Regions from separate parts of the Homo sapiens genome. Here regions 1, 3, 4, 5, 6 and 7 are each linked to region 2. Evidence: promoter capture Hi-C in human tissues and cell types (Jung and others, 2019). All regions are on one chromosome and are shown on one strand. The core of a region is centred on a gene start or on the middle of the fragment in contact, and the rest is flanking DNA. Distances in the headings are between cores, read along the strand shown. Region 1 overlaps LOC105370003 (a long non-coding RNA gene). Region 2 holds the start of TBX3 (T-box transcription factor 3). Region 3 overlaps LOC105370003 (a long non-coding RNA gene). Region 4 overlaps LOC105370003 (a long non-coding RNA gene). Region 5 overlaps LOC105370003 (a long non-coding RNA gene). Region 6 overlaps LOC124903082 (a long non-coding RNA gene). Region 7 has its middle 570 kb from the start of TBX3.

Region 1 (4,092 bases), core at 1,286-3,785, 810 kb before region 2:
TGAGAAGGGGTCTATAGGTGTCACCAGGCCCCCAAAGGAGTCCCTGGTCCTTCTCTTTCTCTTTCTCTCTCTCCTTACCTCCCTCCTTTTCTCTCATTCCTCTTCTCTCCTCCTTCCCTTTCATCTCTCTCTTGCTCTCTCTGAATTATTGTGTTATTCTTGTGCAGCTGACATTGCTTTCTTTACCTGTGAGAGCATACCTGGACAGTTGTGGGTTCCCTCTGTGTGTGTATATGTGCTTGGATGGCTCTGTATATATCTCCATGCATATGTAGTATCACATATATTTGTAAACCTGGTAGCTGGCATGTTCTTTTTGGGGCCCTGGGAGTTTGTGTCTATGTGCATGAAGGGTTTCCTCTATGTATGTGTGTGTTTCCCCTATGTATGTGTGTGTGTGTTTACTTAGATGCTTGTGTGTCTACTACACCTGGGTGGCTCCAAGCTTTTGAGTGTGTACACTAGGATATTTATCCATATCTGTGTGTCTCTGCATGTCCTCTTGATGTTTGCTTTTCTCTGTGGGTTTATGCCTAGATATCTGTGTGCTCCTGACTGCCTCTAAGGGTGTGACCCCTTGTGCGATACTCCTGGAGGTCTGTGTATTTCTCTATCTCTTCCTTTCCCAAGAAGCCAGGATTTTTCTGCCATTGCACATCCTTGAACTTGCCAAGATGATGCCAATAGGTTGAACTTTCATGATCTGCACCACAGGTTGGCAAACTTTTCCTTAAAAGGTAAGACAGTAAATATTTCAAGCTTTGTGCACCACATGGTCTTTGTGACAATTACTTTCATCTCTGCCTTTGTAAAGTCTAAGCAGTCTTAGATAATATGTAAATGAATGAGTGTAATTGTGCTCCACTAAGACTTAATCTGTGGACACTAAAATTTGAATTTCATATCACCTTTATGTGCCATAAAATAGTCCTTATTTTTATTTTTGAGATGGAGTCTTGCTCTGTCACCCAGGCTGAAGTGCAGTGGCACAATCTCGGCTCATTGCAACCTCTGCCTCCCAGGTTCAAGTGATTCTCCTGCCTCAGCCTCCTGAGTATCTGGGATTACAGGCACATGCCACCATGACTGGCTAACTTTTGTATTTTTAGTAGAGACAGGGTTTGCCATGTTGGCCAGCCTGGTCTCAAACTCCTGACCTCAGGTGATCTGCCCACCTTGGCCTCCCGAAGTGCTAGGATTACAGGTGTGAGCCACTGTGCCCAGCCAAAATATTATTCTTATTATTATTGTTATCAACTCTCTAGAAAGGTGGAAACTATTCTTAGCTCACGGGACATACAAAAACAGGCAGTAAGTGGATTTGGCCCTCAGGCCTTAGTTTGCGGATTCTAGGTCTATACACATGGAATGGGCATCCCTCCTTTATCCTCTTCCTGCCTAGTGAGAGTTGAGCGTCAAGGGCAACCGCTTAACCCTTTGTGGGCTTAGCAAACAGACCTGCAGCCTGCCCAGGAGACCTGGAGACCTGAATCTCTGCTTTGCAGTTGACTGGCTGGGGGATGAGGGCCGCTGACCTCCTGTCTCTGAGTTTCAGCTTTCTCCTCTATAATATGAGCTGGCAATGCTTACCTTGGCATAAAGTCTTTGACACTGTGCCTAGCACATTGTTAGTGCTCAGCAAATAGTGTCTACCTATCTGTGTATATTTCTCTACTCTCCTGTCTCTCCAGCTTTAAGCCCAGTCTGCAATGAATGAGCCAAGGTTGTAAGCAACATGGGTAGTTCCAAGGGTGAAGATGTGAGTTCTTTCCAGTGGATCAGGGAAGGCTACTTGAAGAGGGAGGATCCTGGCTGGGTGAAATGTGACTGTCAATGCAGAGAGCTACAAAATGAAGGTTGGCAAAACACAAGGTCTGTTACCCTTTTCCACATCCATATCAGTTTGGCTGTTCTTTGTTGTCATGTTCCTTGGTAATTTCAGCCCTGGATGACAGAAAGCTATGATCACCTATCCCCCAGAATTTATTGAAGATCCCCTTGACTGGGCTTTGAAGCTAAGATCTGTTGAGAACAGAATGGACAAACCATCTACTTTTGAGTCCCAGTTCTGCTACCTACTAGCCTAGTTACTTTTGGCAAGTGATGACATCACCTTTTCAAGTCTCAGTTTCCTCACCTGTAAAATGGTCTACTAAATGCACCTTCTGTGTAGGGCTGTTGCGAAGCCTCAAGACATGATGGGCACACATTTAGTACAATTCCTGTTGAATATGAAATGCTCGATAACTTTGGCTACATTTATGGTCATTCCCAAGTACAGTGAACCCCTCAAGAGGGGAAAAAGTCGTCAGCCAAAGTGACCTGGATTTTTGTGATTCAGCTTTTGCTGTACTTTTCAGATTCTTCGGTTACCTGGAAATATGACTCTGGCATTTCTATGAGATTCCCCAGATAAAAATCTGGGCAATAATCGTCTTTGCCCCTTTAATGAGCTATTAAGTGGCTTTGCTTAAATAATAGAGCAATTATTTTTTAGAATGCTGGCCTCTGGGGCCCTCCCCGGTCTTGGAGCTTTCACATCCCTACTTGCTTTACCAGGGTGACAAATGGAGACATCTTTCTGCTTCTTCCTCCTCCCCAGGGATGAGAGGCAGGTAAGACCATAGGTCACTGAGGGATCAGTCTTGGCAAAGATGCATGCAGGTAGCCCTCAGAAAGTTGCCCTCAGAATTTAACCTACACGTGTGCCCCACATGTAGGCCCCTGGAAAAAGGCCTGCTCCTGCAACCACTACTAAAACCCTGGCTTCTTCTTGATCGTCCTTCGCCTGACATCATGGTAACCTGGATGATGTGCTATGCCAAGGGTTTAATGACATTTTGACTTAATGTGTGTGACTTTTTAAATCTTGGAAATACCATTGCCTACCATGCGGTGGGATAAACAAAAAACCGAGGTTCAAATCTGCTCTTGCCACTTCCTAGCTCTATGACCTGAGAAAGCTCATGAAATTCTTGTAACCTCAGTTTCCTCATCTGCTCAATGGGGCCAATAATAACTTGGAGAATCCATTTTAAACAGCCTGCTCAGGAAAAATGTCCCCAAGTCTTCCTTTATTGTGTCACAATCCTGCTCAATAACCTCCCATGGCTTCTTGCTACCTTTGGAGTAAAGTCTAAGGATCTTACCCCAGAATTCAATGCTTTCCATTATGTGGTTTGGACTTACTTTTTCCTATCCCATCCCCTTCCATGAACCACCTGATCTATTTGAATTGGTTTCTTCATGGCTTCACTATACCATGCACTTTCAGCCTCTTGGTTTTCGCTCATAGATCCCTGTTACACGAAATGCGTTTTCTGTTCCTGCTTATCTATCATAACTTGTCCTATCTGTACCACTTACTAGCTGCATGACCTTGGGCAAGCCACTTTGCCACCTACATGAAACTTTTCATCTGTAAATGGGGGAACATAAAATGACATCCTCAAGGTGCTCTATCCAGGATTCAGCACAATATTACATGTTAAGAGCAAAGCAGGGTGCCTCATGCACAGTAAGCTCACAGTTAGCAGTTAGTGGTTTTGCTATAGCTAAAATCCTTCTCCCTCTCTAAGCACCTTTCCTAACAACTCAGGTTCCTTTTGATTCTTCTCTTCATACAGCTCTAAGAGAAATTGCCTCCCTGAAACTCCGTCCAGCAGCCAGGCACCATGGATATTTTCCTGGCCTTCCAAGCACACCAGACCCCCTCTTGGCCCCGGGGGGTTTCCTTCTGAGTGTGATGTGGGGTATTGATTATGGCCTCTGATGTCCTCACAAGTATGCCTTATCTCTTGTTCTTGTAGGATGTCTCTTACCTGACCCCTATGCCAGTATCATGATTCAAAGCCTCAGTCGAAAGTTCCTGAATTCTATCTCCAAGAACAGCCTTTAAGCAGAAAGGTCATTGTCAGGATCTTTAGAAGAGAAAGCTTGGAACAGTAACCCCCGGGAAATATTCTAGTTTTGCCAGATACTGGAGAATCAAATGAGTAAGGGAAAATATTCTGTGCAGTAAAATGGTTCTTCCGACACACACTTGGCTTTAGACTTTGCAAAGCTCTTACACTCAAATTACATTTCTCAGTT
Region 2 (4,040 bases), core at 752-3,251:
AAGGGGCGAGATGGCGAGCCAGACGGAGTTCGCAGAACCACACTATTCTCTCTGGTGACTTCAGGGAATTCTCAACGCTGGCGCCAAGCTCTCTTAACCATGTGCGTCAAAAATGCGAGGCTGGAGAAGCCTGTCGCCTCAAAAGATCCTCCCCTATCTCAGCGTGGTTGGCCCACAAGAGCACTTCATTTTCACCCTTCCCTTGGTGCCACGTTGGGGTTTCGGGGTTGCTGGGGGTTGCGCGGGTGCACAAGGCAAAATGCGAGAGAGGCCTGTGCTGGCCTACAGAGACACACACATCCAAAGCCCTGAGTCTCTTAAACCCCTAAGCCCCCAGATCAGCCCTTTCTCCGTTCCCTTTCCATCGAAGAAGCTTTCATCTCAGGAAAGATAAAAGAACATTGTTTTCAAGATTTCCCTCCATCTAAGCAAGGATGGTCCAAGACATTGGCCCCCAGAATCAAGAACTGTGGGCTTAGGCGAATCCTCTGACCCCGACCGGGCGCTGCGGTAACAGAGTTGGTAATTCGGCGATTGGTAAGATCCGGTCGTTTCCCTCCCGTCCGCCTAAGAGGAGGCCCCCACCCTACCCGTACTAAAAACAGTCAACTCGCCTCTGAGGTGGGGGCGTTTCACGGTTTGTTTTACAAATTCACCCTCCCTCCCCGACTTCTGGCCAGATTAAGTCCCCGGGGTGGAGAAAGAACTGAGGCACCGAGAGATAAGTGCGATGCCTAGAGAAGATACCAGGCTGGCGCGCCTCCCCCAACCCAATCGCCCACCCCTTACCCTGTGCTGTGCACCCAGCCGGGCCTCGAGGTGAGGGCAGCGGCTTGGAGGGGACAGGCTCAGAACCCAGTCTCTCGCTGTGCTCGCTTTGTCCAGATCCTCCATTCTCTTCTCTACACCCACACCCACATCCAGGTGGAATATGGGGGCCCGCATGCAAATGAAAGACGAGATCCAAAAGGGCTGGTAAATGCATTTCATAAAAATCCCAAATCCATCTTCCCCAGGAGCTCAGGCAGGGCCAGCCGCGCAGGCTGTGTACGTGTTTGTGTGTACGTGTTTTTCGGTGTGTGTTTCAGTCCCAGTGTGTTGGCGCGTGTTCGAGTACAGATACACCGGGGGTGTTTGGGTACCCGCACATGGCTGCGGGTGGGGCGCAGTGGAGAGGAAGCCCACACATGCGTGTGCTGAGATATGGCCGCATCCTTGTGCTCCCCCAGCCCAGACGCAGGGGAGACCAGCACCGAGACACCCGAGCTCGGGAGCCCTTCAGCGGCGGCCGGGCGGAGCTTGGCTCCACGTGGGGCTGGAGAGCACGCAAGCCTGGAGTCTCGGCGCTCGCTTCTCGGCTGCCGCCGGCTTTTGTAGAACCGAGTGGCCGGATGGCAGCTCGCGGGGAGGCTCGGCCACCCGCCCGGCTCGCCCGGGGCGGGGAGAAGAAGGAGAGCTGGAGAGAGAACCGGCCGCGGCGGTCGGAGAGGCGAGCGGAGTGCAAGAGAGGCGAGCGCCCCTGCCCGGCGCCCGGGCGCGCTCTCCGCCTTCCCCGCCCGGCTCGCCTGCTCGCTGGCTCCCTCCCTCTCTCCCTCCCCCTTCCTCCTTGGCCCTGCCTCCTCCCTCGATCCCCGGCTGGATGACTGAGGCATTTCAGACGTGGGCTGAACCAGAGCGAGCGAGCGAGCTCAGGGGCTGCAGCGATCTCTCGATAAGCCACCTAGAGGCGACTCTGTGCGCGCGCGCTCCCCAGTGGCTCCCGCCCGCCCTCTGATCATGTTGACATATTCACAGGACAGGCAGTAGTACCGATGCGGCGCTGCGACGTTACAGTTTCCGACACCTTCTTTTTATAACTCAGCTCTATCCCCCAGCACTCGACCTGTGAAAACCACGCCTATGCAGCAACACAATTGGTCCGAAAGCGTCAAAGAGCCAATCAAGAGGCCTCCGGCTCCCCGCAGCCCACAGCGCAGCCCGACCTTCTAGAGCCGCCGAGCAGACGCCCGGTGAATTCTAGAGGCGGCGGAGGGTGGCGAGGAGCTCTCGCTTTCTCTCGCTCCCTCCCTCTCCGACTCCGTCTCTCTCTCTCTCTCTCTCTCTCCCCTCCCTCTCTTTCCCTCTGTTCCATTTTTTCCCCCTCTAAATCCTCCCTGCCCTGCGCGCCTGGACACAGATTTAGGAAGCGAATTCGCTCACGTTTTAGGACAAGGAAGAGAGAGAGGCACGGGAGAAGAGCCCAGCAAGATTTGGATTGAAACCGAGACACCCTCCGGAGGCTCGGAGCAGAGGAAGGAGGAGGAGGGCGGCGAACGGAAGCCAGTTTGCAATTCAAGTTTTGATAGCGCTGGTAGAAGGGGGTTTAAATCAGATTTTTTTTTTTTTAAAGGAGAGAGACTTTTTCCGCTCTCTCGCTCCCTGTTAAAGCCGGGTCTAGCACAGCTGCAGACGCCACCAGCGAGAAAGAGGGAGAGGAAGACAGATAGGGGGCGGGGGAAGAAGAAAAAGAAAGGTAAAAAGTCTTCTAGGAGAACCTTTCACATTTGCAACAAAAGACCTAGGGGCTGGAGAGAGATTCCTGGGACGCAGGGCTGGAGTGTCTATTTCGAGCTCAGCGGCAGGGCTCGGGCGCGAGTCGAGACCCTGCTCGCTCCTCTCGCTTCTGAAACCGACGTTCAGGAGCGGCTTTTTAAAAACGCAAGGCACAAGGACGGTCACCCGCGCGACTATGTTTGCTGATTTTTCGCCTTGCCCTCTTTAAAAGCGGCCTCCCATTCTCCAAAAGACACTTCCCCTCCTCCCTTTGAAGTGCATTAGTTGTGATTTCTGCCTCCTTTTCTTTTTTCTTTCTTTTTTGTTTTGCTTTTTCCCCCCTTTTGAATTATGTGCTGCTGTTAAACAACAACAAAAAAACAACAAAACACAGCAGCTGCGGACTTGTCCCCGGCTGGAGCCCAGCGCCCCGCCTGGAGTGGATGAGCCTCTCCATGAGAGATCCGGTCATTCCTGGGACAAGCATGGCCTACCATCCGTTCCTACCTCACCGGGCGCCGGACTTCGCCATGAGCGCGGTGCTGGGTCACCAGCCGCCGTTCTTCCCCGCGCTGACGCTGCCTCCCAACGGCGCGGCGGCGCTCTCGCTGCCGGGCGCCCTGGCCAAGCCGATCATGGATCAATTGGTGGGGGCGGCCGAGACCGGCATCCCGTTCTCCTCCCTGGGGCCCCAGGCGCATCTGAGGCCTTTGAAGACCATGGAGCCCGAAGAAGAGGTGGAGGACGACCCCAAGGTGCACCTGGAGGCTAAAGAACTTTGGGATCAGTTTCACAAGCGGGGCACCGAGATGGTCATTACCAAGTCGGGAAGGTAAGCAGTGGGGGCCTCCTCCCCTAAGCTGTTGGAGAGTTTTTTCCTCCCTTTATTTCTCTGCTCCCAGAACAGTCGGTTGGTCGGTTATTACGGCTTGGACGAAAAGTTAGTTCCCCTAGAAATGTATGCACAGACTTCCAGGCCCTGCCCCGGTGGCAGGAAATTTCAGCTTACCTGGGCATCTGCATGGGTCTTGCATTTGGTCTGCATCCTGGGTTCCCTCCCGAACAGACAGAATTTTTCAGTGGAGCACAGACATCCCTGCAGGGAGCAGGAAAGAAAAAAAAAAAAGGCACTCTACTGCAAGAAACTCACTCTTCAAACCCTCCTGGAACATCCTTATTTCTTTGTTGATGTTGTGTTGTCTGTTTTATTTTGTTCTCAGAGAGAAAAACTTAAAGCCCTTTCCTTTTGTGTGGGTATTGGGAGGCCTGACACCATTCCCCGGCCCTTTCTGCCCTCCAGTCTAGCCTCTGGGTCTAAAGGGGCCTGCTGCTGCCCTGGTCAGAGAGAAATCGAAGGGCATTTTGGTTTGTTTGCCCACACTACTTCACGTGTCTGTAACCCAAGGGCGAGTTCAGCAGGCAATTTTGCATAATTTAAGATTATGTTTGCAGACTTAAGGAGCCAGTGAGGAGACACACACCTTTTTTTTAATGTGTGAATATTATCA
Region 3 (4,251 bases), core at 112-2,611, 700 kb before region 2:
GTCCCTTTGCTCTTCCCTAGAATGGTCTCTATTTGTTGTCAAGGTTTATTTACTTTCTTTTTTGGACTTCAGTCCTCCTACCCTTCTTGCACTTTACCCTTAAATATGTGAGTGAATATACGTGTGTGTGTGTGTGTGTGTGTATGTCTGCATTCATTCATGTGTGTGCTGTATATATGTGTGTGAATATATATAGATGTGTGCACTCTTTATCTATATTTATATATATATTTATATATAGATAGAGAGAGAGAGAGAGAGAGAGAGAAATCTTTGTTGTATTTAGTGCTGTGTGCTTTACTAGTTGTTATGGAAACCAAAAGCCAGATTTGAGCAGAAGGGCCCAAGGTGTCCCTTAGTCCAGCTGTAAAGCACAGGAAACAATTTTGGGCCCCAGGGATGATGAGGAGAGATGAAAGGAAGAGCATAAAGGAGTGGAAGGGGGTGAGGATGTGCGAAGAAGATGAGTTAGACGGGGCCCACTAAGGCTCATTCATCAGAAGACGTACATGTACGTGAGTTGGCCAGGGGCCTCCCTTAGCAACTGGCACATCTTCAATGAAGATTCTCTGTGCTGCACTGTCTGCTTTCTTCTTTCCTAGAGGTTGATCTGCAAACTTCTCTGCTTGGAAGGCTGACTCCGCCTTTGGGGCCCTGGTGAGTCCTTAGGAGGAAAAACGTGGCAGGCCTTCCACAGGCTCCCTCCTGGGACTGATGCACACACAGCGGTGAGGGAGGCAGGAGCCTTCCTTCTTAGTCTCAGTCTAAGTCACTTCTGTCCAATATGGTAGCCACTAGCCACATATGGCTATTTAAATAAACTAAAACAAAATAAAATAAAAAATACTGTCTTTTCTCTGTACTTTCTGCTCAGTGTTTCTGTAAACCTAAAACTGCTCTAAAAAGTGGTCTATGAATTTTTAAAAAATTTAATTCCTCAGTTGTCCTACATACATTTCAAGTGCTCCTAGCCACATAGCGACTGGTAGCTATTGTATTGGATGAATAAAGCAGATGTAGACCATTTCCATCATTCTGGAAAGTTCTATGGAACAACTTTGATCTCAGTAATAGTGTACCCTTCTGGACTAATCCTTACATGTTCCAGAGCAAAGAGAAACTATTCATTCATTCAGCAAATATTTACTCCTTGCCAGAATTGTTCTGGGTGCCTAGGATTTCGCTGGGACAGACATACTTCTGCCCTTGTGAAGTTTATGTGCTGGTACATCATAGGTGTTACATAGATACAAATGGAACATGACTATGGGGAAAAAGAAAGCAGGTGAAGGAAAATAGAGAAGGCTGGGTGCTGGGGTAGTGGAGAGGGTTCTATTTGATAAAGGGTATTCAGAGAAGGCTCACTGAGGAGGTGACAGATGGCAGAGCGGTGGCCTGAAGGAAGGGAATGAGGGAGTATGCCTTGCAGATTTCTGTAGCAGAGAATTCCAAGCAGACGGGGCTGTAGTGCAAATGTCATGAGGTTGGAGCATGCTGCTCATTTTGAATAGAGTAGTGACATGGTCTGGTTTAGGATGTAACAGGATCCCTCTGGCTGTGAAGTGGAGAGTACGGGATGCCACAGAGTGACCAGTAAGAAGGTTGGTGCCACATCCCGAGTGAGAGGTGATGGTGGCTTGGACCAGGGAGGTAGCCTTGGGAGAGGTGAGACGTGGTCAGATTTCGGGCGATACCCTGAAAGTAGAGCAGGCAGGACTTGCTGCTGGATTCACGTGGCATGAGAGAAAGAGGAGTTGAGGATGATGAGAAGGATAGAGTTTGCAATTATGGAAATGGGGTAGATGGCAGAAGGAGTGGTTATGCAGGGACGATAATCAGTATAGTTGTGGAAATAGCAAGTTTGAGATGCCTACTAAATATCTGAGTGTTGATCTCTTTATATGAGTGTATTCATTCAACACGTATTTGCTGGGCTCCAATACATATCCAGGACTCAGTCATTTGCATATAAGAGATGAGCATAACTCCTTATTTTCAACTTTCTCTAATTGATCCATTAAAAAATAAACATCTTTTTTTTCCTTTGTTCTTGCACCAGCTTGTACTTTAAACTCTATATTTAGCAGAGCACTGGGATGACTGACTTGGTCCCTTGATTCTACTTTTTTTTTTTTTTTTTTTGCAGTTCACCTAGTTCACAGCCAGACACTTTGCTGGGTTGCAGAGACACTAAGAACATAAAATGCCAGCCCGGCCCTTGATAAGCTGACAGCCAGTGGGAGTTGCTAAGGCACAGGACAAAGCACATGGGCTTTGGGCCCATCAAACCTGATTCATGAAACTGGCTCTACCGCTCACGAGCTCCTTAGCCTGGGGCCACACACTTAACCTCTCTGAACTTGTTTGCTCATCTGTATAATGGAGCACCTGACACCCAACTCACAGGACTGTCAGCAGGATCAGAGAAAATGCGTATACATTCACCTGCACAGTACCTGATATATGTAAGTGCTTATTTAATACATGGTGGTTAGCATTAACTTTACTGTTACCAAATGAAACAGACACATAACAGGAAAAATTATCATATATATTGTGTTAGGCACTTTTAAAAACAGATCTGAATAAAGTGTTAGGAGACAGGATAGCAGAGGGTAGGAATATGGGCTTTGGAGATAGATGTTGATTCCAAACCTAGCACCTCCATTCATGCAGTGAGTTGACACTGGGCAAGTGCCTTGGCATTTTGATTTGTAAAATGGGCACAATTACCTATTAGTACCAACTCACAGGTATATTGCTCATTTTTCTTTTTTTAAAGAGATAGGATCTGACTCTGTCGCCCAGGCTGGAGTGCAGTGATGGGATCATAGCTCACTACAGTCTTGACTTTCTGTACTCAAGCGATCTTCCTGCGTAGCTGGGACTACAGACACATGACACCGTGCCTGGCTAATTTTTGTACTTTTTGTAGAGATAACATCTTGATTTGTTGCCTAGAGTGGCCTCAAAACTCCTGGCCTCAAGTGATCCTCCCACCTTGGCCTCCCAAAGGGCTGGAATTACGGGTGTGAGACACCTCACCTGGCCTGGAATGTTGTGAATGTAAAGGGGATGACACATCATACAAAGGGATTCACACTTTTTTTTAGCTATAGGGCTTGCTCAATAAGTGTGCATTGCTGCTATTTCCACAGGAACACAGGTGGCCAAAGAAACCTCTTAAGAGGGAAAAAATGAATCACGGGGAATATGCTCATATAAGAAATTAGGGAAAGAAAAGAAAGAAAAAAAAACAAAGCCTTTTTTTTTTTTTTTTTTTTTTTTGCTGGGTATAGGAAGGCATCCCAGGCTGCTTCATCATTGCCCTGTCCAGTTCTGACAAATATCTTTGACATCCCCAGAGAGAACACTGAGGCCCTTCAAGATTTTAAATTCTCTGAGAAGTCTTCAAAGGTCTACTTTGACTGTAGTAGAAGAGTGACTGGTATCTTCGGAATGGTTTTGAAGTTCAGTGGTAAACATGTCTTTTGGGCTGTATTTTTATCAAGGAACATGTAAATATACCAGCGTGCCCTCTCCCTAAGTCCCCAGGAGCCTTGATGTTTTCCTAGATGTCAACTCCAGCACTTCCGTGAGTGGTAGAGGCAGTGGATGCTCATTCTAAACAAGGTGGTGCAACCAGTTTGTTGTAGGTGTAGTTTTCCTGAACTGGTAAATTGTCCAAAACTTTCACTGACTGTGCAATCAGTCACTCCTTGTGCTACTTGCAGACTTGGCTTGTGGCCTGACCTACTTCACGTTTACACAGGCCCGAAGCTTGCCTGCAAACATCATCGGGGAGCTAGAGATGACGGGCAAGGAGTGATTCATTTCTTTGGCCGTGAGTTGCTTAAAGCAACTCATTTGCGTGCTTGGGGTAACCCCCTTCAAAGTTAAGCAGGCAAGGTGAGCCTTGCTCCATCTGCCCTCAGTAAAGAGATGGCATCCTGCTGGTTATCTTGCTGACATAGCTGGTCCTGCTTAACCAGGTGAGGCAGAGTGTGAAGAGCTTCTTCTGGCGATCAGGCAGACCTGGTTATGAACTCCGATTCTGCTACTTAGTACCTGTAGCCAAATTACTCAAGTCTCTCTGCTTCTCTAGTTCCTCTCTTGCAAAATGATTTATGAGTGGATTAGGTCTATAGATGGCAACATTGTCATGAAAGACTGTTGTATGGATCGAACACACAATAATCTATGCCCAATACCTGTTAAATAGATATTAATAAACTCATATTTGCTGACTGT
Region 4 (4,273 bases), core at 1,304-3,803, 790 kb before region 2:
ATGTTTTTATTTGCTACTTAATTGCTAGCTAACCATTCTCCTACTAATGAACTTGTAGGGTCTTTCAAGTTTCTTGTATTATAAATAACACCGTGAAGGACATCTTTAAACATGAATATTTGTGTAGACTGATTTTGAAAATCAGGTTGTGGATCTGAGTTCGATATGTTTGTTTTTTTTTCTTTTTGTTTTTGGTAAGTCTTAGGGAGGGCAACATATTTTTCAGGTCAAAAATGAGTTTTTGAATTTTACCTTATCTCTGTCCTAAGCCAATTTCTCAAAGTCACACTCTTAAAGATATTGACTCATCTTCTTTTCTACATTGCCTAAGTGAGTTTTTAATTTTATAATGTTTGACAACTCAAATAATATTTTTGAAACATTTGAAGTATGGGCTATCTCATACCATCTATACATGTAGGGAATTGATGAGCACGAAACCCCAAGAAGTGGAATATTCAAATGAATTTGATGATTGGCCTTGGAGTGTGTTATATGGATTACCTTGTAGGTTGCATTCAGCTACTAATGAAGTGATTTCGTATTCTCCAAATATTTGCTGACTCCAAATGAATGAAGAATTTGAGAGATATTTGCTGTGTAGCAAAAGCAAGCCCATGTGGTGGTTCGTTTAAAATCCCAACTGTATTTTCTCTCTAATCATGTAACTTGTCACAGTGTATTATAGTTTCTGGTAGATTAATCTTTATTCTCCACTAGGTCAGGAATTTCAGGAAGCCATAAATGTATATCTGGTATACCGTGGCTGATAATATAATATCTGGCACATGGCCGGTATTCAGAAAATTGTGTTAGAAGGAAGCAAACAAGTGAGAAAGCCAGTCGTAAACAACCTTGCAAAAACAATTCTTGAGAAATGACTCTGCTTGTTCGGAACCATCATACACTGGAAAATTCTTAAACCTTCTTTTCAAGCATTATAAGAGATAACTTTTTAGAACCATAAGACTTGCAGAAAATGGCGAACTTAGGTGGCCTCTGGGGTCAGAACTTTGAGGACATGGCTGAAATGAGTTCAATCACTCTTTGAGTTATCAAAACTGCACTAATTCTAGGCTCACCCTGAGGAGGGGGGTTTCAATCTAATTGGGGGGAAATCTCTGCCTTGACAAAAAGTCACCTGTTTATATCTCATGGACTCTAAGAGGAACTGTCTCAGGCCATGAAATGCTGGCTGGACAAGCCCTTTCATGCCCCTTCACAGAGCGCTTTCTTTCGTTTTCGAATTCATACAATGTCACAATCCATACAGGATGATCTGGCCCAAACCCTTCACCTGCTAGAAGGGGACACTCTGGGGTCAGCCTCTTCTGTTCCGACTCAGATAGCATCTCTCGGCGCCAATTGTGCAATCATTGGCCTTGCGTGACTCCTCAGTTTGCTCTTCATCTTCTGCTCTCCTCACAGGCTATGAAGGACAAGAATTAATTTATGGTGCTATGAAATGCGCTGGGCTTATCAAGGGTTTTTATGGGTTAATATCCACAAGCTTCACCTCCCTTACCTTTGGTCCTGGAGATCATGTTTACAGTGCAGGTTTGAACTTAAGGGAAGGGGTTAGGTGAGGAAGAAGGCAATTAAAGGACTCACAGTCACCTGCTGGTCCGTTCAGAGCAGGTAAGACTTGCCTAGGTGTGGGCAGGGGGCCCTTCACCCAGAGCCCTATCTCTGGAGGAAGATAAATTCACAGTTAATAAAGATAAGGGCCTGAGAGAAATGCCATTAAGGACTACATTGCCAGCCCAGCCCAGCCGATCAAAGCCAACGGTGACTAATTCTCTTAATGGGAAATACCGGGGGTCAGAGAAGGTTTTGTGTCACAGGGTTGGTGAGGAAAACCAGCTTGGGCAGGCATGGCTTTGAACCCTACCTTCGTCACTTAACAGCCACGAGATCCTGAGCAAGTGTTTTTGCCTCTTTAAGCCTCAACCTGCAGGATCTCTCTTTCTTCTGTCTTAGGCCTCTTGACTGCATGAACTATAATGGTGTATGAAAAGCAACTGGTGCCATGCTGGGCACAGGATAGCTAATCAATAAATGTGAATTTCTCCCTTTACCCCCTTTCCCCTTTTCTTCCTTTGACGGTGCCTTTGAAAATAAACTCATTTGGAGGCTGGGCACGGTGGCTTATGCCTATAATCCCAGCAGTTTGGAAGGCCAAGGCAAGCGGATCACTAGAGGTCAGGAGTTCGAGACCAGCCTGGCCAAGATGGCAAAACCCCATCTCTACTAAAAATGCAAAAATTAGCCAGGTGTGGTGGTGCACGCCTATAATCCCAGCTACTCAGGAGGCTGAGGCAGGAGAATCGTTTGAACCCAGAAGGCGGAGGTTGCAGTGAGCCGAGATCACACCACTGCACTCCAGCCTGGGTGACAGAGAAAGACTTTGCCTCAAAACAAAACAAAACAAAACAAACTAAATTTATTTGGTTTGCTTGTATCCTTTCATTCATTAAGCCATTGATTGATGTGACAGACATATAAAGCACTTACTAAGTGCCAGAATCCAGGCTCAGCATAGAGCACATTTAAAATATCAGGTGCAAAATTTGTCCTTATGAAGCTATGGTCTAAAGAGGGGAAGAAACGTTAGTTCGGATAGCTACCACACATTGAACACTGACGACATGCAGTACTTTTCCTGTATTTACTCATTGAATCCTCATAACAACTCTCTGAAGTAGATACCATCATGATCCCATTTTATGGATGGAAAAACTGAGGCACAGGGTCATGAAGTAACTTACCCCAGATGCCACAATTAGTAAGTGTCAGAGTATAAGTGTACCCTGCAGCCCATGTGCAGAAAACTACTGGGGTGTTACAAGAAGATAACTATTAACCCTTTGCACTTGGCGATTTACCCATTTGGGGGCTGTTGGTGGAATTTGGCTAATTTGGTTGTCCACCCCCTTGCTAATCCAGAGCGTGTGGTCCGTGGCCTGGCAGCTTGGACATTCCCTGGGAGCTGGCAAGAAATACTGAATCTCAGGCCCCACCTCAGACCTGCTGAACCAGTCTCATTTTGACAAGGTTCCAGGGGATCTATGTGCCAGCTGGAATTTGAGAAGTGTTTGTTTATATGTCCAAACTGTCTTTCCACTGTATAATTAAAATAACAACTAAAAAGCCACCCAGGTAGTGCTATTGTATAGCCCCGAAGTCACTGGGTTGAGGAGACCTGTGAGATGCCCATAGGAAGTAGCCTGGGCACCCCTTAAGTGGCTTGACCCCACGTTTCTTCAACCCCCTTAAGACTCTGCTATCACCTACAGTGTCTTCCCTAACATCATCAGCAGGGTTCAAATGTTCCTTGGCATAGAATCTCCCGCAATGCTTCCTAAGCAGAGATGTTGACCTGCAGAACGTGCCCTGTTGTGGGCATGGGTGGGGTTAGGGTCAGTTTCTGGTCCACTCTCCAGCATCCTCATGGCCCTCATCATTATCTGCAATGACGTGAGTCATTCAACTGTTCACCTCTTCACCATAGAGTCATTCCATTAGATTGTCACTTTCATGGGGGCAGCTATTTACCTGGCTCAATTACCTCTTCATCCCAGCACCAGGAAGAGACCTGGCACATAGGAGGTGTTCAATAAATATTTATTGAATGAATGAATAAATGCAGAAACCTATTCTAAATCTTTTTTTTTTTTTTTTTTTTTTGAGACAAGGTCTCACCCTGTCACCCAGGCTGGAATGTAGTGGTGCACTCTCAACTCACTGCAACCTCCCCTTCTGGGACTCAAGCAATCCTTCTCTCTCAGCCTCCCGAGTAGCTGGGATTACAAGCATGTGCCACCATGTCTGGCTAATTTTTTCTATTTTTTGTAGAGATGCGGTTTTGTCTTGTTGCCCAGGCTGGTCTTGAATGCCTGGACTAAAGCAATCCTCCTGCATCAGTCTCCCCAAGTGCTGGGATTACAGGCGTGAGCCACTGCGCCTGGCCTAAACTTTTAAGTAAATAATTCCCAAACTTTAGTGATTGAATAATGATTAGAAATAAGTTATGTGTCACACCCTGCAACTGACCACAGCTCTTCAGGGTGCCTAAGAGGGCTGAGATTGGAGAACAGCCCAAACTTACCCATTATATTAATTTAGTACTGCTGCTGCAACAGAATTACCACAAATGCAGTGGCCTGAAACAATGCATATTTACAATTTTTTTTACAATTCCGGAGATAATAAGTTCTAAAATCAAGGTCTTGGCAGGGCTGCATCTCTTCTGGACACTTTAGACGAGAATCAG
Region 5 (4,172 bases), core at 752-3,251, 890 kb before region 2:
GTTGCTTTTTATTATTAATATTGTTAGTCTTCTTTGAGAGATGCGTGCAGAGGATGTGACACCCAGAGAGCTCAATAAAACATATGTAATGTCATCTAAGCAATCTTCTGCAGGTCTGGGCAGGAAGAGTTCACCCCTATTGGGGAATTGAAAGGAATATGGTCTTCATAGGGAAGACCATATGAGCGATTTGGAAAAAATCACAGGACCCTACAGGATGGGTGTCCAGACTCCTAGCTCTAATTGTTGAATCACATTCCATTATCAAGAATTAAATTATAGACTATTAGGATTAGAGGGATACTGAAGTGTCACCTAGTCTACGATTTTCCAATCACTCAGCCTTTCACTCATTCATTGAATGTATATGTTTAAAACACATACTCTGTGCCAGCCGCTGTTCTAGGAGATAGAAGTGAATACAACAGGCAAGGTCCCCAACCTCATGGAGCTGACATCCTGGTGGAAAGAAGTCATCAACAGATGCATAAATAATATGCTCGTGATATGGACTAGGCAGAAAAGTAAAGCAGGGAAGGGGGTAAAACTGCGTGAGGCTGGAAATGGAGTAGAGAATAGGGTGGTCAGACATGGCCTCCCTGCTAAGTTGACATTGGAACAGACACTCAAAGGAAGTGAAAAAGTGAGCCATGCACGTTGCCTGGGGGAAGAGCATCTGAGCAGAGGGAATGGCATTGCAAAGCCCCAGAGTGGTCAGGTAGAGAGTGTGTTTAAGGAGCAGTGAGGAAGCCCATGGGCTCAGAAGGATGAACAGAAGGTAAGTATAGGTCAGAGAGTTAGGGAGACACGGTGACCAGAGCATATGGGGCCCTGTGGCCATCGTAAGAATTTGGCTTTTACTCTGAGTGAGATGGGAGCCATGGGAGGGTTTTGAGCAAAGAAGGGGTGTGATCTAACTATTGCTTCTTAATATTTAACACAATCACCCTGCCAGCCTTGCTAATAACAGGCTGAAAGGGGACAAGGGCAGGAGCGAAAATCCAAGGTAAGAGGCTACAGCTATCTTCAATGATTCTAAAGATGGGGCAGGTACTACCGGGTTACCTGAGATAGGATTTGATGAGCTGAGGACCAGAATTAAATACTCTGTATCACGTAGAGATTATCCTCTTTTCAACTTTCCTTCAATCTATCCGGTTGGACTAAAAAGAAAGTTTCCCCATCTTGGAGTATGTCTTTAACATTTTCCCCTTTCAACTTTCCTTCAATCTATCCGGTTGGACTAAAAAGAAAGTTTCCCCATCTTGGAGTATGTCTTTAACATTTTCCCCATTGCTGCTAATCTTTCTTTTTAATAAAATGAGAACAGCCACAGGTGAAACACCTTAAGTGGGCAACTGTATCCAGCTAGAATTTAATAATGCACTTGCTTTCATTACATTTATTTTTAACAGCTTTATTGAAATTCACATAGCATACAACTCACCCGCATAAGGTGTATAATCCAGTGGTTTTTAGTATATTCACAGAGCTGTACATCTATCACCACAATTGATTTTAGAATATTTTCACCATCCTTAAAAGAAATCCGATGCCTCTCTGCCATCACCCCCACTGCCCCCATCTCCTCCAACCCTGGGCAAGCACTAATCTACTATCTACTTTCCTTCTGTGTCTGTAGGTTTCCCATTCTGGACATTTCACATGAATGGAATAATACAAGGCTTCTTTCACTTAGCATCATTTTTTCAAGGTTAATCCATGTTGGGGCATGTGTCCATGCCTCAGTCCATTTTATGGTGAAATCATATCCCATTGCGTGAATAAACCACGTTCTGTTTATTCAGCTAATGACATTTGGCTTTCTACTTTTTTTTTGCTATTATGAATAATGCTGCTATGACCATTTGTATACAATTAATTTGGGTGTGTGAATGTATGTTTTTATTTATCTTGGGGTATATGCTAGGAGAGGAATTGCTGGGTCATCACCATTTGAGAAACTGACAGTTTTCCATAGTGGCTGTACCATTTTCCATTCTCACCAGTGGTAGAGGAGGTCTCCAACTTTTCCACATTCTCCCTAAACTTTTTATTTGTCTTTTTGATCACAGCCCTCTTAATGGATATGAAATGTTCTTCCCTTGTGGTTTTGGTTCGCATTTTCCTAATGGCCGAGCATCTTTTCATGTGATTATTGGCCATTTGTATAATCTCTTCGGAAAGATATCTATTCAGGTCCTTTGCCTTTTTTTTTTTTTTTTTTTTTTTTTTTGAGACGGAGTCTCACTCTGTTGCCAGGCTGGAGTGCAGTGGTGCGATCTCGGCTCACTGCAAGCTCCACCTCCCAGGTTCACGCCATTCTCCTGCCTCAGCTTCCCAAGTAACTGGGACTACAGTTGCCCGCCACCACGCCTGGCTAATTTTTTTTGTATTTTTAGTAGAGATGGGGTTTCACCGTGTTAGCCAGCTTGGTCTCGATCTCCTGACCTCATGATCTGTCTGCCTCGGCCTCCCAAAGTGCTGGGATTACAGGCTTGAGCCATCGCGCCCGGCCTGCCCGTTTTTTAAATTGGGGTCTTTGTCCTTTGTATTATTGAGTTAGTTGTAAGAGATCTCTATATCTTCTGATACAATTCCCTCATCAGATGCATGATTTGCAAATAATTTCTCCCATTCTATGCATTGTCTTGTCACTTTTTTGACTTGCTGCTTTTTTTGTAGTTACTTTTTTGACAAGTGATACTGGTTTTCCAGTAAGAACTATGTTGTGAATTTCACCTTTAAATGAATTTACCTAAAAAATGTGAAGCGGTGGCTGACGCCTTTTATTTTACACATGGGAAGACTGGGGGCCCTGAGAAACCCGAGGCAGATGTGGGGCTACCAATTGGATGCCCCGATCACCAGCCCCTGCCTCTTTGCACCACCCTAAGCTTTGTTGGGGGAGGACACATGCCAGCATTCTATCCCATCGATTGTGTGTGCTTGCTGAGTGAACAGGAAGGAGGCATCTTGTCTGTACGTTATAGCGGTTGCCTGTGGGCAGGGTAGCTTTTCACAGTGCAGAGCAGCGTGATAGGGTGTCTATCTGCAAGCTGAGTGTGTGGGCATGTTACAGAGGCCACTGTGTGTGTGTGGGGGGGTGGTATGTGCCAGGGCACCTACACTCAGATGTAAACGTGAGCTCATGGGCACACGTGCATTCCATGTGAGCACTCAGCCAGAGTGCGTGGGAATTAGGAACATGTTCCAGCTTTGCAGACTGAGCACAAGAAATAGAACATGGGATGTGTGTGTGCTCATACTCAGTACAGGCTGACCTTGCTTTTGACCTTGAGCTTCTCTGCATTCAGTCTTCTCATCTATAAAGCAAAAGAGAGCTGGGCTAGAACAACTCTCCCCACCCCTCTTTTTAACTGCAAGTTTAGTTCAAATGGAAGCTGTGTATCAGTATTCTACCAGGAAAACTACCATCAGGTACAGTGAATAAGAGGGAGACTCTGGAGTTAGACCAGGGTTCAGCAGACTTTTTCTATTAAGTGCAAGATAGCAAACACGTTTGGCTTTGTGAACCATCTAGTCTCTGTCACTATTCTTCAACCCTGCCCTTGTAGCATAAGCAGAGGCAGACAATATATACATGAATGGACCGGGGCTGTTTTCTAATAAAGTTTTATTTACAAAAACAGGTGATTGGTCATATTTGGACCCTGGGCCATCATCTGCTGACTCTGTGTTAGAGAGTCTGAGTTCATATCTCACCTCTGTCACTTTCTAGCTGTGTGATCTTGGGCAAGTTACTTAACCTTTCTGAGCCTCAGTTTCCTCATCTGTAAAATGGAGATGATTATCCTACCTCTTTCATGAGTTGTGGTGAGGACTAGAGAAGGTATTTCATAGAAAAGTCCCTAGCATGTAGTAAACATTCAATTAATGTTAGCTACTATAGTGACATTCTTATGTATGTGCATGTGTGTGCCCATGTGTGTTCACTCTGTGGGTGTGCTCGGCAGGCATGCACGGGTTTAGCACACATTGCCAGCATGGGTGATCATGGAGATGTGCACACGGTGCATGCAGTATGCCTATTGGTGCAGAGTAGATACCTATATGGGATGTGTACTCGTGCTGGTTATGAGCTGAACAAGTGTGGGAGTCCAGACTTGAGAACACAGAGTCTGTGGGTGTGTGGAAAGCTTGTATTTGGA
Region 6 (4,279 bases), core at 249-2,748, 630 kb before region 2:
TGATCCAGGAACCAAAGTTTGAGAACCACTGGCCTAGACTGCTTTGCTCATGCCCCTCCCAGGTCTTCCAGAGTGCCTAAGCTGACTTCGTCGCAGCAGTCTTTTATTCAATCAGCTGGTGTTTACTCGGACACTTCCCATGCTGCAGGGGTTGTACCGGGCACATAGGAGGCAGTGCCTTGTAGCTGTTGTCAGCAAGAACTTTAAATGTGGAAGATGCGTTGTAAATTCCAGCCTAAGCTTTTTAGCTTCCTAACTAGGACAGATTGTTTTATCTATACAATCTGTCATAGAAGCTATTATATGTTGGAAACTCTGGAAGATCTATAATTACCCTTAACACTCAGCTCTACTTTGTAAGTTACATTTATTTATTCTTAGTTTCTAAATAGGATTACCATGGCCAGTGCCTTTCTAACAATTTTAGAGTCATTTTATTTGTGAGATTAATGATTTGAAACTTCGATTTTGTCAGAGATCTCTAGACTGACCTCTAGAGATAGGCGTGTTAAGAATTAACAGCCTTTAAATTCTGGGATACATGTGCAGAATATGCAGGTTTGTTACATAGGTATACATGTGCCATGTTGGTGTGCTGCACCTATCAACCCATCATCTACATTAGGTATTTCTCCTAATGCTATCCCTCCCCTAGCCCCCCACCCCCCAACAGGCCCCAATGTGTGATGTTCCCCTGCCTGTGTCCATGCGTTCTCATTGTTCAACTCCCACTTATGAGTGAGAACATGCAGTGTTTGGTTTTCTGCTCCTGTGTTAGTTTGCTGAGAATGATGGTTTCAGGCTTCATCCATGACCCTGCAAAGGTCATGAACTCATCCTTCTTTATGGCTGCATAGGATTCCATGGTGTATATGTGCCACATTTTCTTTATCCAGTCTATCATTGATGGGCATTTGGGTTGGTTCCAAGTCTTTGCTATTGTGAACAGTGCTGTAATAAACATTCATGTGCATGCGTCTTTATAGTAGAATGATTTATAATCCTTTGGGTATACCCAGTAATGGGATTGCTGTGTCAAATTGTATTTCTGGTTCTAGATCCTTGAGGAATTGCCACACTGTCTTCCACAATGGTTGAACTAATTTACACTCCCACTAACAGTGTAAAAGCGTTCAGTGTTTCTTTAACAGTAAAGACATTTTCATTATCAAATAATGATGTTCATGTTTTTCTAGAAAAACTATCATTACTCCATTTGTTTAAACTTTGATCTTGAATAAAAATAAAACAAGCAAAAAAAATTAACATTCTTCAGCTGGGCGCAGTGGCTCATGCCTGTAATCCCAGCACTTTGGGAAGCTGAGGCAGGTGAATCGCTTGAGGTCAGGAGTTCAAGACGAGCCTAGTCAACATGGTGAAATCTGTCTCTACAGAAAATACAAAAATTAGGTGGGTGTGGTGGCACGCACCTGTAGTCCCAGCTATTCAGAGGCTGAGCTAGGAGAATCGCTTGAACCCATGAGGCAGAGGTTACAGTGAGCCGAGATCACACCACTGCACTCCAGCCTGGGTGACAGAGCAAGCCTCTGTTTCAAAAAAAAAGAAAGAAAGAAAGAAAGAATTAACAGCCTTCTTTCTAGAAGCAGGGATCTGCCCAGTTAGCAAGGAGATTGGGTGGACCAATGCTGGGAATAGAATCCTGAGATTAAAGATATTGTTATTAAAAATATCTCTAATGTCCTTTGAAGTGAGGAGGCTCATTGCCTTTTCCCATTTCAAGAACCTCAGCAATTTTGAGGCACCAGAATTTTCCCTTTAAATCTAACTTCTGTCTTTCTTACTTTATTGTCAGTCCATTTTTAAGCCAAATCACTGAGTTATGACTCACATTGAAACGCTGTGCATCTTTAATGCACACAACTTGATGAGTTTGGAGATAAGTGTACACCTGTGAAGCTATCACCACAATCAACACCATAATCATTTCAATCACCTCCAAAAGTTTCCTTCTGCCCTCTTTGTTTGATATGGTTATTATTACTGTGATAAGAAGACAATGTAAGATCTATCCTTCTAGCATATTTTTAGTATACAATAGAATATTCTTAACTATAGCTACTATGTTGTCCTCTGGATATCTAGGACTTATTTATCTGGCATAATCAAAACTTTGTATCATTTGACCAACATCTCTCCGTTTCACCCTCCCTGTAGGCTTGGCAATCACCACTCTGCTCTCTGCTTCTGTGAGTTTGACTATTTTAGATTCTTCATAGAAGTGGGTTCATGTAGTACTTGTCCTTCTGTGCCTGGCTTATTTCACTTACCATAATATCCTCCAAGTTCATCCACATTGTTTCAAATGGCAGGATTTTCTTGCTTTTTAAGGCTGAATAACAATTCATTATATGTATATACCAATTTTCTTTATCTGTTTATCTGTCAGTGGACATTTAGATTGCTCTCATGTCTTAGCTATTGTGAATAATGCAATTCCGATTTCAATTCCTTTGGATATACACCCAGAAGTGGGATTTCTGGATTATATAATGATCTATTTTTATTTATTTATTTATTTATTTATTTATTTATTTTGAGACAGTCTCGCTCTGTCACCCAGGCTGGAGTGCAGTGGCACCATCCCAGCTCACTGTAACCTCTACCTCCTGGATTCAAGTGATTCTCCTGCCTCAGCCTCCCAAATAGCTGGGATTACAGGCATGTGTCACCACACCCAGCTAATTTTTTAATTTTTATTAGAGACAGAGTCTCATCATGTTGCCTGGGCTGGACTCAAACTCCTGGCCTCAAGAGATCCACCTGTCTTGACCTCCCAAACTGCTGGAATTACAGGTGTGAGCCACTATGCCCAGCCATGATGACCTATTTTTAACTTTTTGAGCAACCTCTGTACTGTTTTGCATAGTGGTTGCACCAATTTACATTCTGACCAAAATTATACAAGAGTTCTCTTTCTTCCACATCCCCACCAAAACTTGTTATCTTTTTAAGACAATAGCCATCCTGACAGGTGTGAGGTGAGATCTCATTGTGGTTTTGATGTGCATTTCTCTGATGATGTTGAGCATCTTTTCATAGCTATTGGTCATTGGTTTGTTTTCTTTGGGAAAATGTCTATTCAAGTCTTTTACTCCTTGAAAAATCTGGTTCTTCTTCACTTCCTTCCTTCCTTTCTTCTTTTCTTCCTCCCTTCTTCCCTTCTTTTCTTCTTTATTTCTTTGCTTCCTCTCTTCTTTTCTTTTCCTTTTCTTTTCTTTCCTTCCTTCCTTTCTTTCTTTCTGTCTCTCTTTCTTTCTTTCTCTCTCTCTTTCTCTTTCTTTTTTCTCTCTCTCTTCCTTCCTTCCTTTCTTTCTTTCTTTCTTTCTTTCTTTCTTTCTTTCTTTCTTTCTTTCTTTCTTTCTTTCATTCTTTCCCTCCCTCCCTCCCTCCCTCCCTCCCTCCCTTCCTTCCTCTCCTCTCCTTTCTCCCTTTCTCTCCCTCTCTCCTAGTAAATTGTAGGAGTTTCTTATATCGTTTGGATATCAACCCTTAATGATATATACAGCTATGGTTTGCAAACATTTTCTCCCGTTCTGTTAGTTGTATTATCATTTTGAAGTTTTTTTGTTCTGTGAAGAAGGTTTTTAGTTAGATATAGTCCAATTTGTCTGTTTTTGCTTTTGTTGCTTGTGCTTTTGGTGCCATATCCAAGGAATCATTGCCAATGTCAATATCAAGGACACTTTTTCCCATTTTTTCCTAGGAGCTTTATAGCCTCAGATCTTAATTTAAATATTTAATTCATTTTAAGTTTGTTTTTGTGTATGGTGTAAGATAAGGGTCCACTTTCATTCTTTTGCACATGGATATCCAGTTTTACCAACACCATTTATTGGACAGAATACTCTTTCTCTAAGTGTGTTCTTGGGACCCTTGTCAAATATCAATTGACTATATAATCACAAGTTTATTCCTGGGCTTTCTGTTTGTTCCATTGGTCTACATGTCTGTCTTTATGCCAGTACTGTATTGTTTTAATGCCTGTAGCTTTGAAACATATTTTCAAATTAGGAAGGGGTGATGCTTCCAGCTTTGTTCTTCTTGTTCAATAGTGCTTTGGTTTCTGGGTAACTTGTGGTTCCATAAGAATTTTAGAATTTGTTTTCTATTTCTGCAAAAAAAAAATGCCATTGGGATTTTGATAGGATGGTATTGAAACTATAGATAGCTTTGGGTAGTATAGACATTTTAAAAATATTAATATTAATTGTATCAGTCCATTTCATTTAGTTGTTATCCAATAATCTGAAGACTTACT
Region 7 (4,047 bases), core at 1,364-3,863, 570 kb before region 2:
TTTCAAAATGTCCCCAGCTCAGAGAGTTTTGTCAGCTCTTCTCTGCTCCTTCCTGAATGCTGAGCTCCAGGGTGTGTCAGGGGTCAGAGAGCCCATCTGCTGCCCAAATCAACCAGTAACATCCCAGGCAGAGTCGGTCATTGAATTCTGCTACAAGACTCAGGCAACTGTTGGGGGCTCCATCACCCAGAGCTCAGGGGACACACTTCATATGGTGCATCCCACCCTCCTCCTGGCCCTCTCTGTCACTAGAGTGTGATCTCCCATCTGAATTATTGAAGGTCCCATAGAATAATGCAAACCTGGAATCTGGGAATGGACAGGAGGTTTGGAGGGAGAAATGCATGCAGCTTGGGCAGGCTGCACACGTCACAGGCCTAGAGACACCGTCCATGTAGACTGTGGGTGAGGGTTCTCCCTAGGGCTGGCCATGCAGCCCCACACAGTGAAACAGGCAGATCTGGATGAAGGGGCACAGGAGGAAAGGCAGTTGCTGAACCAGCATCAACCCAGTGAGATGGATGCTGGCCCTGGTGGTGATGAGTCAGCATGAAGGGGCTGCTGCAAGGGGCACAAGAAAGAGGCTTGGGGGCTGTCCACACCCCACACTGGAGAGGGCAGAGCCCAGGAATGGAGATGTAGCTGTTGCTCCCAGCCAGGATGGGATGCTGGCCTGTCTCATTTACTTTACCCTTTGGTGATGCTGTTTCGTCTCTATGGGAAGTCTGTTCTGGTGTTAGTTATCATCTCTGTCTTCCAGCCTCAGTTCCACAAAAGACATACACAAGTATACACACAACCCACAGAGACACACACAAACACATATAGAAATGCAAACACAAAAGATAGACACAAATACCCATATAAACACACATATAAACAAACACACGCCAACACACACACACGCAAATGCATATACACAGGTAGAAGCAAACACAAAAAGAAACACAAACCCATACACAGAGATACAAAAACATACACAGAAACACAAAGAAACAAACACAAAAGCATATAGAAATGCCCATAGAGAAACACACACATGCAGAGAAACAAAAACACACAGAAACACAAATACAGGCATAGGCACATTCAAACACACACAAAAAACACAAAAACACACACAGAAATGAAGACTCAAAAAGATAAACAAACATCCAAATAACACATATCAACACACACAAATACATGTATAAACACACAGAAACACAAACACAAAATACAAACAAACATAGAAACAGAAACACAAATGCACACACAAACACACAGACAGAAACAAACACAAAAGCATATGGAAAGACACATGCGCACAGAAACAAACAAAAGCACACAAGAACACACACACAAAAGCACCCACAAGCCCATAAAGAAATGCACCCACGCGCACACCGCCATGGCTTGCACTCATGCAGAGGACTTGGGCCCTCTGGCCCTGCTGATGCCATTGATGCCTTGGTGCGATTCCTTCCAGAGCTGTAGATCCTGAGCAACAAATGTGATCTCCATTTCCTTAAGTCCCATAAGGCCAAGGGCAGAGCCAGGCATAAGAACCCTGAGGGTCAGAGAAATCGCCAGGCAGCCACCGGCATGGGTTCAAATCCCTGCTCTGCCACTAAGTGATGACATAAACCAGACCTCCATTTTCCTTTTATAAAACAGTGGGGGGTAATGCTCCCTTTTCCCAAGGATTAAGTGTATTAACACACAAGGTGCCTGGATGAGGGCTCAGTGAAGTTATTTTCACTAACACTGACTCTCAAATACTGCCATCTCCGGGTTCTCACCTGTGCAGCTTGGGGTTCCCATGCGTAATGACTCACTCAGTTATTTCTGGAATCCCTAGCGGTTGCCTCGCACACATTCTTGAAGAGTAATCTGTTTTCCCATTATGATGACCCCCGTTAAGGGGCTGCCTCCAAAGCCTTGTGGGAGGTTCTCTCTCCATCTCATACGGCCAGGTTGCTGGAGTCCAACACAAAACACCAATTCTGTTCAAGCACTGTTTCTTGGTCCTCCCAAAGCTGCCAGCCCCTGGGGATGCCCATTCCTGCCACATTCACTGTGGACTTTATCATCAGAGCTGCGCTGTGCTGGACAAAGCTGGGGTGCTGCCTGATGCCCAACTCACTCTGATGCCTGCAGTCCTATCAGTACCAGATTTACCTCTCCTCTCAAAGTCCATATGAAAGCCTCTCTTCTCCCCACCCTCCCTTCCCCTTCTCTCCTTCTCATCTTCCTCCTCATCTTCTTCCTTCCTCTTCTCTCTTCTTCTCCTTCTTCTCTCCCTTCTTTCTCCTCTTTTCTTCCTCTTTCCCTTCCTCCTCCTCCTCTTCCTCCTCATCTTCCTTCCTCTTCTCTCTTCTTCTCCTTCTTCTCTCCCTTCTTTCTCTTTTCTTCCTCTTTCCCTTCCTCCTCCTCCTCTTCCTCCTCATCTTCTTCCTTCCTCTTCTCTCTTCTTCTCCTTCTTCTCTCCCTTCTTTCTCCTCTTTTCTTCCTCTTTCCCTTCCTCCTCCTCCTCTTCCTTCTCTTTTCCTCTCCTCCTCCCTCTCTCCCTTATAACTGAGACCTAGGGCATAGGCAGCCCCATGCCTGCTCCATCTCCTTCTCTTTCCTATCCTTTTCACCTCTTTCCCTGAAGCTTGTCTCAAGCTGCTTTCTGTTTGCACTTGAAAGACGGTGCCTCAGTATGGACATTTCAGGCCATTTTTAAGTGCAAATTTTAATGCAGAACAGGAGAGGAAACAAGAACAGTCAGTGTGGGGGTGGGGGGTGCGGTGCCACCCAATGGAATGAGCACCTCAGCTTGGAGCCAGAAAGACCTGGAGTAAAATCCCAAGTCTCCCGCTTGCTGGCTCAGGACAACAGTCACAGAATGTGCCACTTACTAAAGAGGGACACAGCCAGAGACATGTCAGTGCTACTGACCTCTCTGAGGTTCCCTCGGAGGCCAGGACTCTGCCCAGTGCCATAGGACACTACCTTTCCATCCAGAGGAAGCAAACTGCTTTATATCCTCCATCTCCGCCTCCCCAGTCCAGAGACATGGAAAGATAAGCTTAGTAGTGAGGAAAAGGAGGAAATTCAGAGATCCAGCAATAATCAGGATCAACTGACCCTTCAACCACCACACACAGGCAACCCAAACGTGTCTGCAGCATTGTGTGTGGATGACCCTTATGGAAAAAAGCTATAGAATCCTTCCAAACAGCCTTCCTACATCCAGAAAGCTGTTTATGTGGTGGTTATGGCTTTGGGGCTTTGGGGGTAGACAGGGCTGATGGTGAGTCCTGGTTCTAGAACTTTCTATGCACTCATGGCATGCTCTTTGATCTCTGTAATCTTCAGCTTCCTTAGCTTGGAAAATGGGCACCATGATGCCTCTTGATGTCAGGGATTCCACTCATCACAGAGTAAGAGGCTGGCATTTCGATTGTGTTGTTATTATTTTAATGAGCTGACGGATGAGGAAAACATATCTCTGAGTATGAGAAAGCCTAAGACAGAAAGACTGGGCACTATAATGACAGGCTTTGTCTCTGTCTTGCTTTTGTAGAAAGCTGGGCTTAGACTTACGCCTTGGGTTAATTTCCTTGTGTCTCCCTCTGCCCCCTCCTTTCTCCTACCTCCTTCCTCCCTATCCTGCAAGGGTGAAGTTAGCACACCACTGGGGTTAGCAGGAGGTACAAACTGGATTAGATGTTAAATCAATTTGGTCTTCCTCCCCAAGGGCGGCACAGGCAGGTTCCACATGAATAATGATTTGTCTGAGGCAGCAAACTGGATTATTTGATCAAAAAGGGGAAAAAACAACTCATGTTCATTTTTTAATAATGGCTTTTGCATCCAGTCTCCAAGCTTGGCTAAGAGGGGAGGGAGAGAGAGGGGGTGGCTGTCGGGGAGGATGAGCTGGAAAGGAGACAGTAACACAATGCTTTTTCCTCTGAGATCTCCTGCTCCAACCTCAGGCTAGAGCAGGGTCTGCCAGATCCAGCCCCCAGCATGATCTTGTTTGGGTATGGCCTGCAAGCTCAGGATGATTGTATGTTTCTA

The links. Contacts are between HindIII fragments. The study calls those that stand out against the background at their distance.
Region 1: a contact is called between a fragment that was not itself captured here and the fragment with the promoter of TBX3 in region 2, in 1 of the 25 tissues and cell types used here (H1 embryonic stem cells).
Region 3: a contact is called between a fragment that was not itself captured here and the fragment with the promoter of TBX3 in region 2, in 1 of the 25 tissues and cell types used here (IMR-90 fibroblasts).
Region 4: a fragment that was not itself captured here is called in contact with the fragment with the promoter of TBX3 in region 2 in 1 of the 25 tissues and cell types used here (mesenchymal stem cells).
Region 5: a fragment that was not itself captured here is called in contact with the fragment with the promoter of TBX3 in region 2 in 3 of the 25 tissues and cell types used here (lymphoblastoid cells, small bowel and stomach).
Region 6: a contact is called between a fragment that was not itself captured here and the fragment with the promoter of TBX3 in region 2, in 1 of the 25 tissues and cell types used here (heart left ventricle).
Region 7: a fragment that was not itself captured here is called in contact with the fragment with the promoter of TBX3 in region 2 in 1 of the 25 tissues and cell types used here (aorta).

What each region holds. Positions count from the first base shown.
Region 1 is chr12:115,493,517-115,497,608 of GRCh38, reverse strand. The region is part of intron 2 of LOC105370003 (a long non-coding RNA gene); the gene reads left to right. Among named protein-coding and RNA genes, the nearest start is that of LINC02463, 390 kb to the left of the region's middle. The HindIII fragment of the contact is 3,866 bases long and covers 603-4,092 here.
Region 2 is chr12:114,682,136-114,686,175 of GRCh38, reverse strand. TBX3 (T-box transcription factor 3) reads left to right here and starts at 2,001. Exons shown (of 7, transcript NM_005996.4): 1 at 2,001-3,364. The coding sequence starts at 2,976. It overlaps TBX3-AS1 (TBX3 antisense RNA 1), which reads right to left and starts at 3,884. Exons shown (of 2, transcript NR_187552.1): 1 at 3,542-3,884. RefSeq lists an enhancer at 1-179 and a promoter at 1,490-1,999. The HindIII fragment of the contact is 7,860 bases long and covers 1-4,040 here.
Region 3 is chr12:115,383,396-115,387,646 of GRCh38, reverse strand. The region is part of intron 3 of LOC105370003 (a long non-coding RNA gene); the gene reads left to right. Among named protein-coding and RNA genes, the nearest start is that of LINC02463, 500 kb to the left of the region's middle. RefSeq lists a silencer at 1-3. The HindIII fragment of the contact is 5,625 bases long and covers 1-4,173 here.
Region 4 is chr12:115,472,216-115,476,488 of GRCh38, reverse strand. The region is part of intron 2 of LOC105370003 (a long non-coding RNA gene); the gene reads left to right. Among named protein-coding and RNA genes, the nearest start is that of LINC02463, 410 kb to the left of the region's middle. RefSeq lists an enhancer at 1,032-2,231. The HindIII fragment of the contact is 3,603 bases long and covers 752-4,273 here.
Region 5 is chr12:115,576,572-115,580,743 of GRCh38, reverse strand. The region is part of intron 1 of LOC105370003 (a long non-coding RNA gene); the gene reads left to right. Among named protein-coding and RNA genes, the nearest start is that of LINC02463, 310 kb to the left of the region's middle. The HindIII fragment of the contact is 8,093 bases long and covers 1-4,172 here.
Region 6 is chr12:115,315,617-115,319,895 of GRCh38, reverse strand. All of the region lies in intron 7 of LOC124903082 (a long non-coding RNA gene), which reads left to right. Among named protein-coding and RNA genes, the nearest start is that of LINC02463, 570 kb to the left of the region's middle. The HindIII fragment of the contact is 3,067 bases long and covers 1-3,031 here.
Region 7 is chr12:115,249,743-115,253,789 of GRCh38, reverse strand. No RefSeq gene overlaps it. Among named protein-coding and RNA genes, the nearest start is that of TBX3, 570 kb to the right of the region's middle. The HindIII fragment of the contact is 3,281 bases long and covers 973-4,047 here.